5 separate regions of the Homo sapiens genome follow, and all the other regions are linked to region 3. The links are contacts of gene promoters, found by promoter capture Hi-C in blood cells and fetal thymus (Javierre and others, 2016). All regions are on one chromosome and are shown on one strand. Each heading gives the region's core, a stretch centred on a gene start or on the middle of the fragment in contact. The rest is flanking DNA. Distances are from core to core; before and after follow the strand shown. Region 1 overlaps SETD5 (SET domain containing 5). Region 2 overlaps SETD5 (SET domain containing 5). Region 3 holds the start of BRPF1 (bromodomain and PHD finger containing 1). Region 4 overlaps SETD5 (SET domain containing 5). Region 5 overlaps EMC3-AS1 (EMC3 antisense RNA 1).

What was found. The method cuts DNA at HindIII sites, captures the fragments that hold promoters and counts their contacts. A CHiCAGO score of 5 or more calls a contact.
Region 1: a contact is called between a fragment that was not itself captured here and the fragment with the promoter of BRPF1 in region 3, in 1 of 17 cell types (megakaryocytes). The highest score is 6.0, in megakaryocytes.
Region 2: a fragment that was not itself captured here is called in contact with the fragment with the promoter of BRPF1 in region 3 in 3 of 17 cell types (megakaryocytes, total CD8 T cells and naive B cells); the score reaches 9.8 in megakaryocytes.
Region 4: a fragment that was not itself captured here is called in contact with the fragment with the promoter of BRPF1 in region 3 in 2 of 17 cell types (neutrophils and megakaryocytes); the score reaches 6.8 in neutrophils.
Region 5: a fragment that was not itself captured here is called in contact with the fragment with the promoter of BRPF1 in region 3 in 3 of 17 cell types (neutrophils, monocytes and naive B cells); the score reaches 8.5 in neutrophils.

The regions. Positions count from the first base shown.
Region 1 is chr3:9,467,005-9,469,704 of GRCh38, reverse strand. All of the region lies in intron 18 of SETD5 (SET domain containing 5), which reads right to left. Among named protein-coding and RNA genes, the nearest start is that of SETD5, 71 kb to the right of the region's middle. The HindIII fragment of the contact is 1,914 bases long and covers 386-2,299 here.
Region 2 is chr3:9,450,422-9,453,121 of GRCh38, reverse strand. All of the region lies in intron 16 of SETD5 (SET domain containing 5), which reads right to left. Among named protein-coding and RNA genes, the nearest start is that of SETD5, 54 kb to the right of the region's middle. The HindIII fragment of the contact is 872 bases long and covers 876-1,747 here.
Region 3 is chr3:9,730,375-9,733,074 of GRCh38, reverse strand. BRPF1 (bromodomain and PHD finger containing 1) reads right to left here and starts at 1,340. Exons shown (of 14, transcript NM_001003694.2): 1 at 937-1,340. RefSeq lists enhancers at 225-784, 1,345-1,904 and silencers at 862-991, 1,002-1,051, 1,522-1,881. The HindIII fragment of the contact is 5,381 bases long and covers 1-2,511 here.
Region 4 is chr3:9,432,848-9,435,547 of GRCh38, reverse strand. SETD5 (SET domain containing 5) reads right to left here. Exons shown (of 23, transcript NM_001080517.3): 4 at 1,598-1,703; 5 at 1,063-1,214; 6 at 666-724. Among named protein-coding and RNA genes, the nearest start is that of SETD5, 37 kb to the right of the region's middle. The HindIII fragment of the contact is 2,635 bases long and covers 67-2,700 here.
Region 5 is chr3:9,990,020-9,992,719 of GRCh38, reverse strand. All of the region lies in intron 2 of EMC3-AS1 (EMC3 antisense RNA 1), which reads right to left. It also overlaps a transcript of EMC3 not described here. Among named protein-coding and RNA genes, the nearest start is that of EMC3-AS1, 4.5 kb to the right of the region's middle. The HindIII fragment of the contact is 3,447 bases long and covers 1-2,700 here.

The DNA of each region.
Region 1 (2,700 bases), core at 93-2,592, 260 kb after region 3:
ACTAGGTCAACTACAGCTAACCGACAAAGAATGGTACCAGAAAACCAGATACCATACCATATCAGTCTTCAAATTACGTTATCTTAGAATCTTTAACAACTGAGGAGAGAGAGCTTTACTTTCCTAACAAGCTAGAGTCAAAACACCAAGAAAATCTCTAATATACTAGTGGAATAAAACCTTTTTCAGTTTCATATTAACCTGTGAACTACTACTGATTCAGAACTTAGTAGACTGTCACTGAATTATGCCCTAATTTTTTATTGGAAGGGGATAGGGTTAAAGTTCAGTTGACTATTTCTGAGAGACTCTAACTTTCTCTTCAAGAGAAAAAAGGTCCCATGTATTAATAGATTCAGAGTTAATGTTACTAAATCTGAAAGCTTATAATAGAAACTCTAGCACTAAAATCTGAGTTTGACATATCCACAGCAGTAGGGTTTGTGAGAAAACCACTCTACTGATATCCTAAAGAGATAACACTTGTATAGCAACCATATCCTAACCATTGCAGAATGGTGGCCTGTGACAGAAAGCCAGGGACTCACTTGGTTTCCTTGTGCACCCAGTAAGGAGCTGCAGAGAAAATGTAGGAAAGCTGAAAGACAGAATGACTTTCCCTTCCTGAAGAAGCTGCTCAATCTATCAACCAAAGGTCAAAACATCTGGTTTACAGAGCTGTTAGATTAACCCTAGAACAAGGCATAAGTCACCACCCAACTCAAAAAACAGCTCTTACAACTTTTGACTCAACTTTCCTGATTTATTAGCCTTTCTTTAACAAGGCTCCTACCACATATCAGCATCTTGACTTCTAGATTCTATTCTTTAATAGAACTCCAGCCACCCCCTCCCCCAAACGGCAAAAACCAACCCCACCAAACACACACACAACACACACACACACAAACACACACGCTCCTACCTTCATTTTCCTCCATCTACATTGACAGTCCTGTGTAGTCACAGTCACACAGGAAGACTCATTCAACTTACTGTGACTGAGTGGCCGCCCTCCAGCCCATCACCCCACTGACTCAGATCCCCAGCCCTCCCCACACACTCAGGAACACATTCATGAACACTCACTCTCAGCCTCCAAGTGTGATTGAGATGGTGTGATAACTACCTCGGGTGACAGGGACTCGGGCCTATGCGCAGGGGAACTCTCAGGGGAGGATATGTTCTAGAGGAGGGAAAAGCATCTTGTTATTATTCATCTACTCGAAGTCAAGAAGCAAAACAAAACAAAAAATAAAAGCAAGCATAGATGTTAGCCATAACTTTTTTCGGGGGCGGGGAAGTTGAATAAGAATGCATAGGGGAAATATTTAACTGCAGAACTCATCTCAATGGACAGAATGACTTGTTAAAATGCTTCCTGGTATCTCTGAAAGCATTTAAGGATAAATTGGTTATAATGTTTCATGCTGTAAGTAAACATCTCAAGCACATACAAGGAAAGAGTTAGACTGGTGAAATTTTAGTGTTATACGTCTTTGTATTTTAGATGAGAGTTTAGCAACCTACAGTATTTGTTATTGAGGGGCACCCTACCCCTTATTCCTCCTTACATGGACCTTGTTCCTTCATCCAATGCCTCTTCTGCTTGTCACATTTCTTTATTCTCTTATATGCCTCAGGCCCTCCCAGTGCTATCCAGGGGGAGACATTAGTGTGCTGGGGGCTGACATGGTTAGGGAGATGGCCAGTTCCTCTTGAATGACAGTTACAGGAAATGTGATTGATGGAATCCCTAGCTCACAGGCTAGAGTTGGTTCTTGGCATAATCTAATTAGACCTGAGCCACCCCTATTAATGTTATTTTGTAAAATCCATTGTACTTTTGGCAACAGAGCAGAAAAAGCATGTATGTGTATACTTAGGTCCCTGTATCCTACAGAGGGTAGGACTTTACCTTGGGACTTTCAGGTGAGGCAGCAGTCCCATAACAGAGACTGAGCAGTGAGTGCTTAATGGAAAGATGTAAATGGGAACACGTGAAGAGAGTGAAGGTGGTAGTGTGACAATGACTCAGGGGTGCTAGGGCTGAGGTAAGGAGAGGGTGCCTAATGTAGACTCTGAATAACTGTGGCCTAGGTGGCAGGCACATGCTGAGGTAGGGGAAATGAGGCTGCTTCAGCAAAGCAGGGTTTTGGCTGTGAATTTTACTTGGCATGGACAGTGGGTGGTGTACATCTAGGTGCACGTATGTGTGAAATGGCGGGTGGAGTATGGCTCTCAGGGCAAGAATAGGAGGGGAGGGTTATTCTGGTAGAAAGGAGAGGCTAACTAAGCTTGTCCTCCCAATGTTGCTTCCACTCTTCTTTCTAGATGCTTTCCCCTCCTGAAGATCTTGTTCTCTTCCACTGTTTATCTTCTTACCTTCTTCCCCTTAGCACTTAAGACTTCTCACCATTTTCCTGAATGCTTTTTTCCTTCTCAAAAATATCCTTCCCCAAACTAATCTAGTAAGGTTGTTTTTTTTTTTTTTTTTTTTTTTTTGAGAGAGAGTCTCCCTCTGTTGCCCAGGCTGGAATGTGGAATGCAGTGGCGCAGTCTTGGCTCCCTGCAACCTCCCAGGCTCAAGCAATTCCTTTGCCTTGGCCTCCCGAGTAGCTGGGATTACAGGTGTGTGCCACTGTACCTGGCCTAAGCTGGTCTTTAAATTATTTTTAGAGATGGGATCTCACTGTTGCC
Region 2 (2,700 bases), core at 62-2,561, 280 kb after region 3:
GAAATCAAAAAAAAGGGAAAAAGTCAAAAAGAAGACCTATCAGTCACAAGTTTTTGGTAGTAAAGATTAGAATAATAAACTGACAAGAAATAAATTTAGGCCAGATAGTAAACCTGCAAAGATTAGGATAATAAGATTATGTATCCTGTGGAAGACAGAAAATTTCTTACCTGTAATTGTGTTCTCTTAAGATATACAGTTGTAGGTTGCTCACCACTCTGTGGCTCTCCTGCCCTGACATAAGACAGATCGAATTTTGATAAACATCAATTTCTGAGTAAGACCCTCCCCCAATAGGAAGAGCAAAGGTGAATTATTATAATTTATACCTTTAGAGAACATGTATTACAGGTAAGTAAATACTCTCTTCACCAGAGAGCAATTCTCATAGATTTTCCCTCTTAGAAACCTAGGAAACAATCCACAAAAATTTTACCAAAAAAAAAAAAAAAAAAAAAAAAATCTTACATCATACAAATGTCATTGTGGCTGGCCAAATGAAAGCAAAACTGAAACTGTAAACCTGTAAACACTTGGAAGGAAGAGTGAACAAGGATATAAAAAAGAGCTCTCAATGGTAATTTGAATCACGTAAACATTTTAGGATACAACCAGGTCTCTGAAAAGCAAACACAAAAACAAAATAAAAAATCCGAAGAATGAACTATCTTAGATACAGAATAATGATGTAAAGATGAATTGTCAGAACCATACATATAGCCTTAAAGCTTAGAAGAGAACTTAGAAGTCATCTTGTCCAAAGCACTCATTTTATAAATGGAAAAATTAGGCTCAGGAGTGAAAAATCTTTTGTTATGGCCACCTTTAAGTTTTTCTTTTCAAAGCAGAAAACACTCATTTGGGGTCACTAAGCTTTCCTATCTGAGTAATTTTTTAATATTTCCAGGGTCTAGTAGATGTACTTGTAAAATAATTTACATTCTGGATCTGATGACTACAAAAAGGGAACATAAAATCAGAACAGGAGTATTCTAGAAGAAAGATGCTACCATGGTTAGCTATGAGGTGAAACACAGCAAATACAATCAAACCTACTCCTCCAGGTTCTGTTGTATAATTTTACAATATTTCAGGACTCATATAAAAAAGGAACATGGACATTTGTTTGTATCTAACAAGATACAATTAACCTCATGGATAATAAGTTAATTTTAGATGCACCTACTCAGCAAGTTGTTAAAATCAAAAGAACATTTCTCCCTTCTCTGAACCTCTATTAAAATATATTGCAAAGGAGTTTTCTGGGAGGCTCAAAGATGGATAAATATTTTAAAGGTCTCGCTATTATGGCGAAAGAGCAAGGAAGCAATACAGGTTTTGGAGTCCAGAAGCCCTGGCTTGACACTTGGCTGTGAGGCTGGGCTCAGTAGCTCGTATCTGTAATCCCAGCAGAATGTGAGGCCAAGGTGGGCAGACTCCTTGCACTCAGGAGTTTGAGATCAGCCTAGGAAACACAGCAAAACCCTGTCGCTACAAAAAATATGAATATTAGCCAGGCGTGGTGGTGTGCCTGTGGTCCCAGCTACACGAGAGGTTGAGGTAGGAGGACCATTTGAGCCCAGGAGGTCAAGGCTGCAGTGAGCCTGTGATGATGCCACTGCACTCCAGCCTGGACAACAGTGAGACCCTGTGAACCCCTACTATCCCCCACCAGAAGAAATCTGGCTGTGTCACTTATTAGCTGCTTCACTTTGGACAAGTTACCAAACATTTCTGAGACAAAGCTTCTGGATATATAAATTTAGGACAATGATCCCAATTTCATGCATGGTAAGTGAGATAATGTATGTGAAGAAAGCTTATAGTACAGTACTGAACACTGAGCAGATTTTCACCGAGTCCCGGTTCAACTAAATTTCAATGCTATGTTTGGAGATTTACAGATAATGCTCCAGTGTATAAAATGAAATATTAATTATCAATGCAAAGCACACTGTTTCATTATCAGTCAGACTGGTTTTTCTAAGAAGTCTGGAGACCAAATGCCCTATACACATTGTGTTTAGAAGAGGAGTTTAGAGAGAACAAGGTGAAACACTACTGAGAGCCTTGTTGGCCACTTATAAATGTTTTTAAAATACCAACTGAGGAACTAAAAAATGCAAAATGCTTCTTAAAAACTATGATTCAATTTAGAAACTCTAGGGATATCATAAAATGTTCTGTCAAATACCTGAACTCCTCTTCTTTTCAGAAGTTGCAGAATAATAATGATAAAAATAAAAATAAATAGCATAAGAATCTGAGTACAACTATACAGATACAACTTTAATTTGTCCTATACTGGTAAGTTTTTAACTTACAAGGCCAGGCCCTTACCTCTTTAGTGAGATATGAAACAGTGAGCCTATTAGAAATATACATTGTTCTAAATAATCCCATGGAGGGTTTTCTTATCTATCTGATTAACTTATACTCTGAGGGATTTTCAGAATTTTATTACAATTTTGTTGAATAATGAAAATGTTCTTAGGTTCTGCATTAGGTAAGTCCTTTCTAACCAATATTAGGAGATATTAGAAGAAGACCAATATTAGAAGAAGAACTCTTCTTCACTGCTATAAAGCCAAATTCTATTCTAGCTAAAACATTCCATTTCATTTTATTTTGCCTCATAAAAAGCTGTATTTTAAAAAATAGAATCTTGATATGTGAACAGCACACAATAAAGCAATGACT
Region 3 (2,700 bases), core at 91-2,590:
CAAGTGCCAGGCCCTAAGGGTACAAACACGAACGCGACAATCTAGGCATGCTCAGCTCCATGCTGGTCCGCAGGGGCCCTCCCTCCCCGCTCCCCAACATTCCTGGGTGAGTGTAGACAGCAGATGGCACCAGGCCTCAGGAAGCCCAGCTTGGTCAGAGACTGCCCCAATTTCTCTCGGCCTAGTTGAGTTCAACCATTCAGCTAGGGGCTTGGCACCATCCCAGCCAGGCAGGGCTATCATGAGCTCCCTGACAAAATAACCCCTCTTGGCCTCTCCACCTGTGCCTTAACCAGGCAAGTGGGCTGCTCCAGCTCCACTGTCAACGGCTCCTGATTTTCACATCAGTAACGCTACACGTCCAACTGCAACTCTTCTATTTCCTACCTGCGGCTGTGTCTTTAAACATAAACCAACCGAAGCACAAACAAGCTCTCCTCTTTCCAAGCTGGGTCCCGGGTGAATGGTTCCCAAAGTAGCACAGCGAATCAGCAATCTCCCCTTGGAACCCGGCAGCAGAGGCACAGGCGAGGGAGACGAGAACTTAGACCAGAAAGCCCGTGGGGAGGGCCCAAGGAGAATGGCGGCTGCATCTGCCCCTGAAGCTCAGGGGGCTGGAGGAAGTAAGGGGCGGGGGCCGGAGGGATAGGGCTGGGCCCCGGCAGTGCCCGCAGCCCACTCTCCGGATGCGGCGGCGTTTCCCCTTTGTGGAAGTGTAACAAGTGAAACAAGGCTCCCCGCCTGCCACTAGCCCGGGCAGCCCCGAAAGATACACTGTTGCCCCAGGATGCCTGCTGGGAAGCAATGCACTGTCAGTTCTCCCAACTGGAGTTGCCAGAGAGGTTCCCGGGCCACGCGGCTCAGTGCGCGTCCCACGAACGTAGCCTACCCCTTCCCTGCCGGCCACTCCCGCCCTGGTCCCAGGCCCGCACTCACCGGCCACCTCGAGTCCGGGCTCATCGCCGGGGGCGCCCGCCGGGGCTCCGACCCCACTTGGGGAGGTCGGCGGGGAAAGTCGGGCCGGGAAGGGGGAGCCCCAACTCCGGAGACCGTAGACCTCGCCACCCCGGCCCCCTGCCGCCCCACGCTTTGGTCCCGGCTCCCCGGGATTCCTGAGCTGACCCCTGCCGCTCCTGGTCCCGCCGGCGCCCTGGGGTCTCAACTCCGTCGGCCGCCGCCCGTTTCGCGAGCCCCCAAGATGCCCGGTCTCGGGACCGGGCGCTGCTGGAACAATGGAGGCTCCCAGAGGCAGCGCGAGGACAGCGGCGGCGGAGACCGTGGCGGCAAAGGCTGTGGCAGCGGCGGCGGCAGCAGCGGCGGCGACGGCGTCTGCGCAGGGTAAACGTGGCGCCGCGGCGCTACTGAGCTGCACTTTCGCCACGGATCCCCGCCCGCCCGCTGAGGCTCGAAAGACCGTGCTCCGGGATTCAGAAAGGACCCTGGACACCCCACAGGGCTTCTCTAGCTCTCCCATCTTAGAGTGGAGTTTCTGGAGACTGAAGTCACCGTACTCGGGATCTGGGGTCGTCGGGCGGTTTGTGGCGAATCTGCAACCACGGACGGTGAGCGCGGGGCTGGGCGTGAGGAGCCCGCCCTTCTCCCCTCCCCCTCTGCCTCCTCCCTATCCGCTCCCTGCCTCCTGCTGGCGCCGCGGCTGCGGGAGGGACCTGGCCTTGGTCTCGGAGGAAGGCGGTGAGGCGGGGCCAGAGTCACGGGGCGGGGCTGGGGGCAGGGCCGGGAGCAAGAGGGATGCGGGCTGGAGCCTAAGGGACCGGTAGTTATGGGTAGGACCGGGGCGGGGCTGGAGACTAGACCGGTCTGTGGGGCGGGGCTTGTGGGAGGGGGCGGGGCTACCGCACAGCGGGGGCCTGTTAGAATAGCGGGGTAAAAAGTGGGGCTAAACAGAAGAAGAGTACTCGCGAGAGAAAGGGCGGAGCTTTGGATGAGCCTGGAAAGTGGAGCTGGACTAGAAATAAAGAACAAAGTTGGAAAAAGCGATGCGACGCTGAAGGGAGCAGGCGGGGCTTGGTAAGGCAGGGGCGGAGCTGTGGGGAAAGGGCAGGACCGATTAGGGATAACGGGGCGTGACTGAAGGAAAGGGAAGAAACTTGGGAAAAGTAAAGGAGAGGTGCTAGAGAAAAGGTATGGGTCTGAGAGAAGGGGCTGGTTTGGGGCCGGTGGGTGTGAAAGGGCTTGTCTGGTAAAGCGGTGGGAAATCTGTGGGTTGGCAGGGATGTGCTGCGGGTTGCTGATTGGAACATGGTGCCAAAACAGCTGATTTAATGTGAGTGGGTCACCTCCTAGCAATGTGAACGTGGGCAAGTTCAGTTCTTTAAGTTCCTTATTTGTAAAACAGAGCTCGAAAACTCTGTTGTTAGTTCTTGAGGGTTTCAGAGAACTTGCATGGCAGGGGGAGACATCCTTAAACAATACTTCTCCAGTTTTGTCATCAAAGAGGAGCGTGAAAGGTCTTCCAGGGTTCTGGGACAAAGCCCAAAGCATCTGAAAGCTTCTATCTTCTTAATGCAAACTTTGCATTTGACCCAATAAAATGTATGTTTTCTAAAAACCATCCCAATAAAATCGACATGCCAGGAAGAGGTTTGCTGATTAAGATCTTGGGATCTGAAGTCAAACTGATGAATTATCTTAAATGACTCATCTTCTCAGAGCCTCAGTTTCCTTATGGGTAAAGTGGGA
Region 4 (2,700 bases), core at 135-2,634, 300 kb after region 3:
GCATTAAGCATATAAACCCTGTTCCTCATGGTATTTATTTCTCCCCTTGTATTCAGTCCCTAAGCTTCGCTGACTCAATCTATAACAATTTGAGACTGGCTAATTTTTAAAACAGGAATCCATATTTTTTGTGTTCACAAGGAATACTTTGCTACAGGACTAAACTGTTCTCAACACATTTCGTTTACAATGAGAGAACTATACAGTGGTCTTGAGAGGACTTCTATCTCTTTCTGTGAAAAGAGCTGGCTGGGGGACCATGGGAACTTGTAAGAGGGGTTCTTTTTTTTTTTTTTTTTTTTTTGAGAGGGAGTTTTGCTCTTGTTGCCCAGGCTGGAGTGCACTGGCGCAATCTCAGCTCATGGCAACTTCCGCCTCCCGGGTTCAAGCGATTCTCCTGCCTCAGCCTCCCAAGTAGCTGGGATTACAGGCATGCGCCACCACACCTGGCTATTTTGGATTTTCAGTAGAGATGGGGTTTCTCCATGTTGGTCAGGCTGGTCTCAAACTCCCGACCTCAGGTGATCCGCCCGCTTTGGCCTCCCTAAGTGGTGAGATTACAGGCGTAAGCCACTGCGCCTGGCCAAGAGGGGTTCTTAAAATGAACATTCAGATCACAGAATATTTTTATGTCAAATTGTGGACCTAACCCATCTTCCGCTCACCTGATATGTTGTCCTGCTTCCGCCGATGAAGTCTAATAACCTTCCCCCTGCTCATTCCCCTAAAGAGGGAAAATAAACTTAAAGTAGTCCTTCCAACAGCATGCATCACATCATAGCACACATGGGCGAAGTGTCTCTGCATATGCTACCCCCTCCCTCCCACCTACCAAATGTTTCCAGGACATTAAATTTCATATCAAATTCAATAGCTTTAACATCAATCTCTCATTCCTTGTTGTCAGCAATTCTCACCTAGTGCAGAGAATTCGAGCCAAGGAGCACTAAGGAATCATCTACATTAACAAACACAAGAAAGAATACTTTGAGCTTTTCCCTACTTGTAAGAAACCCTAATCCCAGCAACCCAGACTTAAATTTAGATGGAACAGGATCTTACCTGCACTTGTCACAGTTGAGAAGGAAGCCATCCTGAGAAAGACCACAAGGACACCAGGTAGGTACAGTTTCTCCTTCAGAGTTCGGGCTGTCTCCACAGCGTTCCTCTACAGGCGACGGCAGGCCATTCAGGTCAGAACGAGGGATGATCGTCTGGACAGGGGGAGAAGCAGGAGGTGTCGGAGGAGGAGGGGCTCCGTAATTATGATCCTGAAAATAAGATTTTTTAAATCAACAGTGTCCAAACACTGGCCCCTCTCTCCCCTAAAGTATGGTACATATGGAAAGAAAGAAGAAAGTAGTACCCTTTGTTTTTTGGCTTCAACCAGGAAAGTGATAAAACAAAATGCCAAGGTCAACTGGGACATAAAAACAAGAACAATGATGCAGGGCTAGACGTCCGCTGGAGTCAGGGAAGTGCAAAAGGGGCAACTTCGTCATGCTGCATATAAACATTTCAAGAAAGTCACAATGTATAAGAATGGATTACACTCCAGGAAGATCACTGTTCTGGAGAGAAACAAATGCATACTCACAGCATAAGGCAGTCCTCGACACCCATGCCTCTGAGTGGTCCCATAATTATGAGTGGAATACACGCTCTTCTCATTAACTGCTGGACTAGCCTCCACAGATTCAGGGCTGCACAAAGGCGAAAAGCAATGCATGATAGCATAACACCTAATCTTCCCTTAAACTAACACTTCATTTCCCATTCTAACCCCTCCTCTTTCCACAACCACTAGCCACTAGGATAAGAGAAAGAACTCGGTGAAACAATCTTATTAACATAACTAAGCCTATAAATAACAGTAGGAGTGTTATTAAATGTGGATTTGTGTGTAACATGAAGCCAGTACAGGCAGATGTCTGAAGGCAGGCACCTGAGATACAAGGTGTCCCTAATGACAAACACAAACGTACCAGCTGAGCGGGGAGTTTCCCCTAGAGAAGCCACTCTGGGCTGGTTTAGACTCAGAACTATTCTTCTTAATTGGATCTCTTAATACTTCCATGAAACCTCACATGACATTTGCAGTGAGTGAGATGATCAAAGTGCCTTCTGCACTGCCCCAGGGACCAGGCCCTCTTCCATTCACTACCAAGACAGGATACCCTGAAGAAAGTACAGGTAAAAACAATGGCATCTTATATTTATCATACCTCTCATCTTGATGAACCCCCAACACCTTTCAAATATTAGAGTAATAATTTCTCATCCACCAATGACATGCAAGCATATTAAGGACAAAATTATTTATCAGCTGCATGATAATACCATAGAACTTCAAAATAAAAACTAAACTGTAAAGTTATGTTAGTCTACTGACAAATAATAACAACAGTAATGGCTACCATTGTGAACTGCCCAATATTTGTTAGGTGCTTTAAATACATATTAATTCATTTAATTTCAGCAACCACTAAACATGGTATATACTCCATTTTTACAGAGTGGGAAGATGTGGTGGTGAGATTACATGACTTCCCCAAGGTTACACACTGACACAGCTAAGATTTGAAACAAAGTCTGTCTGACTCCAAAGTCTATGCTCTTTCCACTACAGAAATGAGAATGACATTCAGTCCTTTAAAGAAAATTATTTGAGACCTTTATTAACCAGGCTTAGTGAGAAGC
Region 5 (2,700 bases), core at 143-2,642, 260 kb before region 3:
ATATTTTTTAAAGAAATAAAGTGCCACAACTATTAACCACTGGTATCTCTTAGGAATACATTCCAATATACATTAAAGTGATACTACTACAGAAGTAACTTTGAACATCTTCACATTTATTAAAAGATTCAATCACTTGCCAACTCCAGTATGTATTTTCACTATTACTAGAAAAATTACTTTGTGAAAAGTTGGAAAGACTATAAATGCCCATCAATCTGGAAAGGGTTCAGTAAATTATGATGGAGTAATTTTAATTTTTGAAATATTATAGTCATCAAAAAGGATAAGCCAGGCTGGGCGTGGGGGCTCACACCTGTAATCCCAGTACTTTGGGAGGCTGAGGTACACATATCACCTGAGGTTAGGAGTTCGAGACCAGCCTGGCCAACACGGTGAAACCCCATTTCTACTAAAAAATACAAAAAAAAATTGGCCAGTCGTGGTGGCAACTGCCTGCAATCCCAGCTACTCAGGAGGCTGAGGCAGGTCAACGACTCGAACCCGGGAGGTGCAGGTTGCAATGAGCCGAGATTGTGCCACTGCACTCCAGCCTGGGTGACACAGCGAGACTCTGTCTAAAAAAGACTTTTTAATTACAAAATTTAAAAAAAAAAGAAAAAGGTAGATCAGGGGTCCCCAACTCCTGGATCACGGAGTCTGTGGTCTGCTAGGAACCAAGCTGCACAGCAGGAGGTGAGGGGTGGTCAAGTGGTCATTACCACTGAGATCCGCCTCCTGTCAGATTAGCGGCTGCATTAGATTCTCACGGGAGCGCAAACCCCATTGTGAACTGCACATGCGCAGGATCTAGGCTGCACATTCCTTATGAGAATCTAAGTAGTGCCTGATGATCTAAAGTTGAACAGTTTCATCCTGAAATCATGCCCCGAAACGGTCTGTGGAAAAACTGTCTTCCATGAAACCAGTCCCTGGTGCCAAAAAGGTTAGGGACTGCTGAGCCATACTCTATTTTTTGACAGAGGAAAGACATTCCTGATATGAAGTGGAAAAAACAGCAGCCTGCAAAAGGATAATCAGGCTGGGCATGAAGGCTCATGCCTATAATCCCACTGCTTTGGGAGGCTGAGGAGGGAGGATCATTGAGCCCAGGAGGTGGAGGCAACAGTGAGCTACGATTGTGCCACTGCACTCCAGCCTGGCGACAGAGTGAGACCCTGTCTCTTTAAACACCACCACCACCACCCATAATCATAGTTAAGATTCTGCTTTTGTAAAAACAATATATAAACATATATATGTGTAGGCATAAGAGTATACCTGTACTTGCACACAATTACAGCTTGTATATGAAGAGAAAAAATTTGGAAGGATGATTACCCCTGAGGAATGGGAAAGAGAGCAGAGAAAAACTGTATTTTTTACATCTGTAGATTCCTTGTGGATTTTTCTCCACAATTAGCTTGTTTACCTAAGTTTAAAAAAGAAAAATATGAGGGCTGGGTGCAGTGGCTCATGCCTATAATCCCAGCACTTTGGGAGGCCCAAGCAGGAGGATCACTTGAAGCTAAAAATTTGAGACCAGCCTGGGAAACACAGCAAGACCTCATCTCTATAAAAAATAAAAGAATGGCCGGGCGCGGTGGCTCACACCTGTAATCCCAGCACTTTGGGAGGCCAAGGCGGGCAGATCACGAGGTCAGGAGATCGAGACCATCCTGGCTAACATGGTGAAACCCCGTCTCTACTAAAAATACAAAAAATTAGCCAGGCGAGGTGGTGGGCGCCTATAGTCCCAACTACTCAGGAGGCCGAGGCAGGAGAATGGCGTGAACCCGGGAGGCGGAGCTTGCAGTGAGCCGAGATCGTGCCACTGCACTACAGCCTGGGCGACAGCGAGACTCCGTCTCAAAAAATAAATAAATAAATAAATAAATAAAAGAATTGGCCAGGCGTGGTGGCTCACACCTGTAATCCTAGCACTTTGGGAGGCTGAGGCAGGTGGGTGGATCACCTGAGTCAGGAGTTTGAGACTAGCCTGGCCAATATGGTGAAATCCCATCTCTGCTAAAAATACAAAAATTAGCCAGGCATGGTGGCAGGCACCTATAATCCCAGCTACTAGGGAGGCTGAGGCAGGAGATTTGCTTCAACCCAGGGGCCAGAGGTTGCAGTGAACCGAGATTGTGGCACTTCACTATAGCCTAGGCAAAAGAGCGAAACTCTCTCAAAATAACTAACTAACTAACTAACAGAATTAGCCAGGCCTGGTGGTGCTTGCCTGTAGTCCCAGCTACTCCAAAGACTGAGGTGGGGGGATCGCTTGAACCCGGGTGTTTGAGACTGCAATGAACTATGATGCTGTCACCGCACTCCACCTTCGGTGACAGAGCAAGACTTAGTCTCTTAAAAAAAAAAAAAAAAAAAAAAAAAGAGAAAGGCCCGGCACGGTGGCTCACACCTGTAATCCCAGGACTTTGGGAGGCTGAGGTGGATCATAAGGTCAGGAGATCCAGACCATCCTGGCTAACAACGTGAAACCCCATCTCTACTAAAAATACAAAAAATTAGCCGGGCGTGGTGGCAGGCGCCTGTAGTCCCAGCTACTCGGGAGGCTGAGGTAGAAGAATGGCATGAACCCAGGAGGTGGAGCTTGCAGTGAGCTGAGATTGCGCCACTGCCTGCACTCCAGCCTGGGTGACAGAGCAAGACTCTGTCTCAAAAAAAAAAGAGAAAACA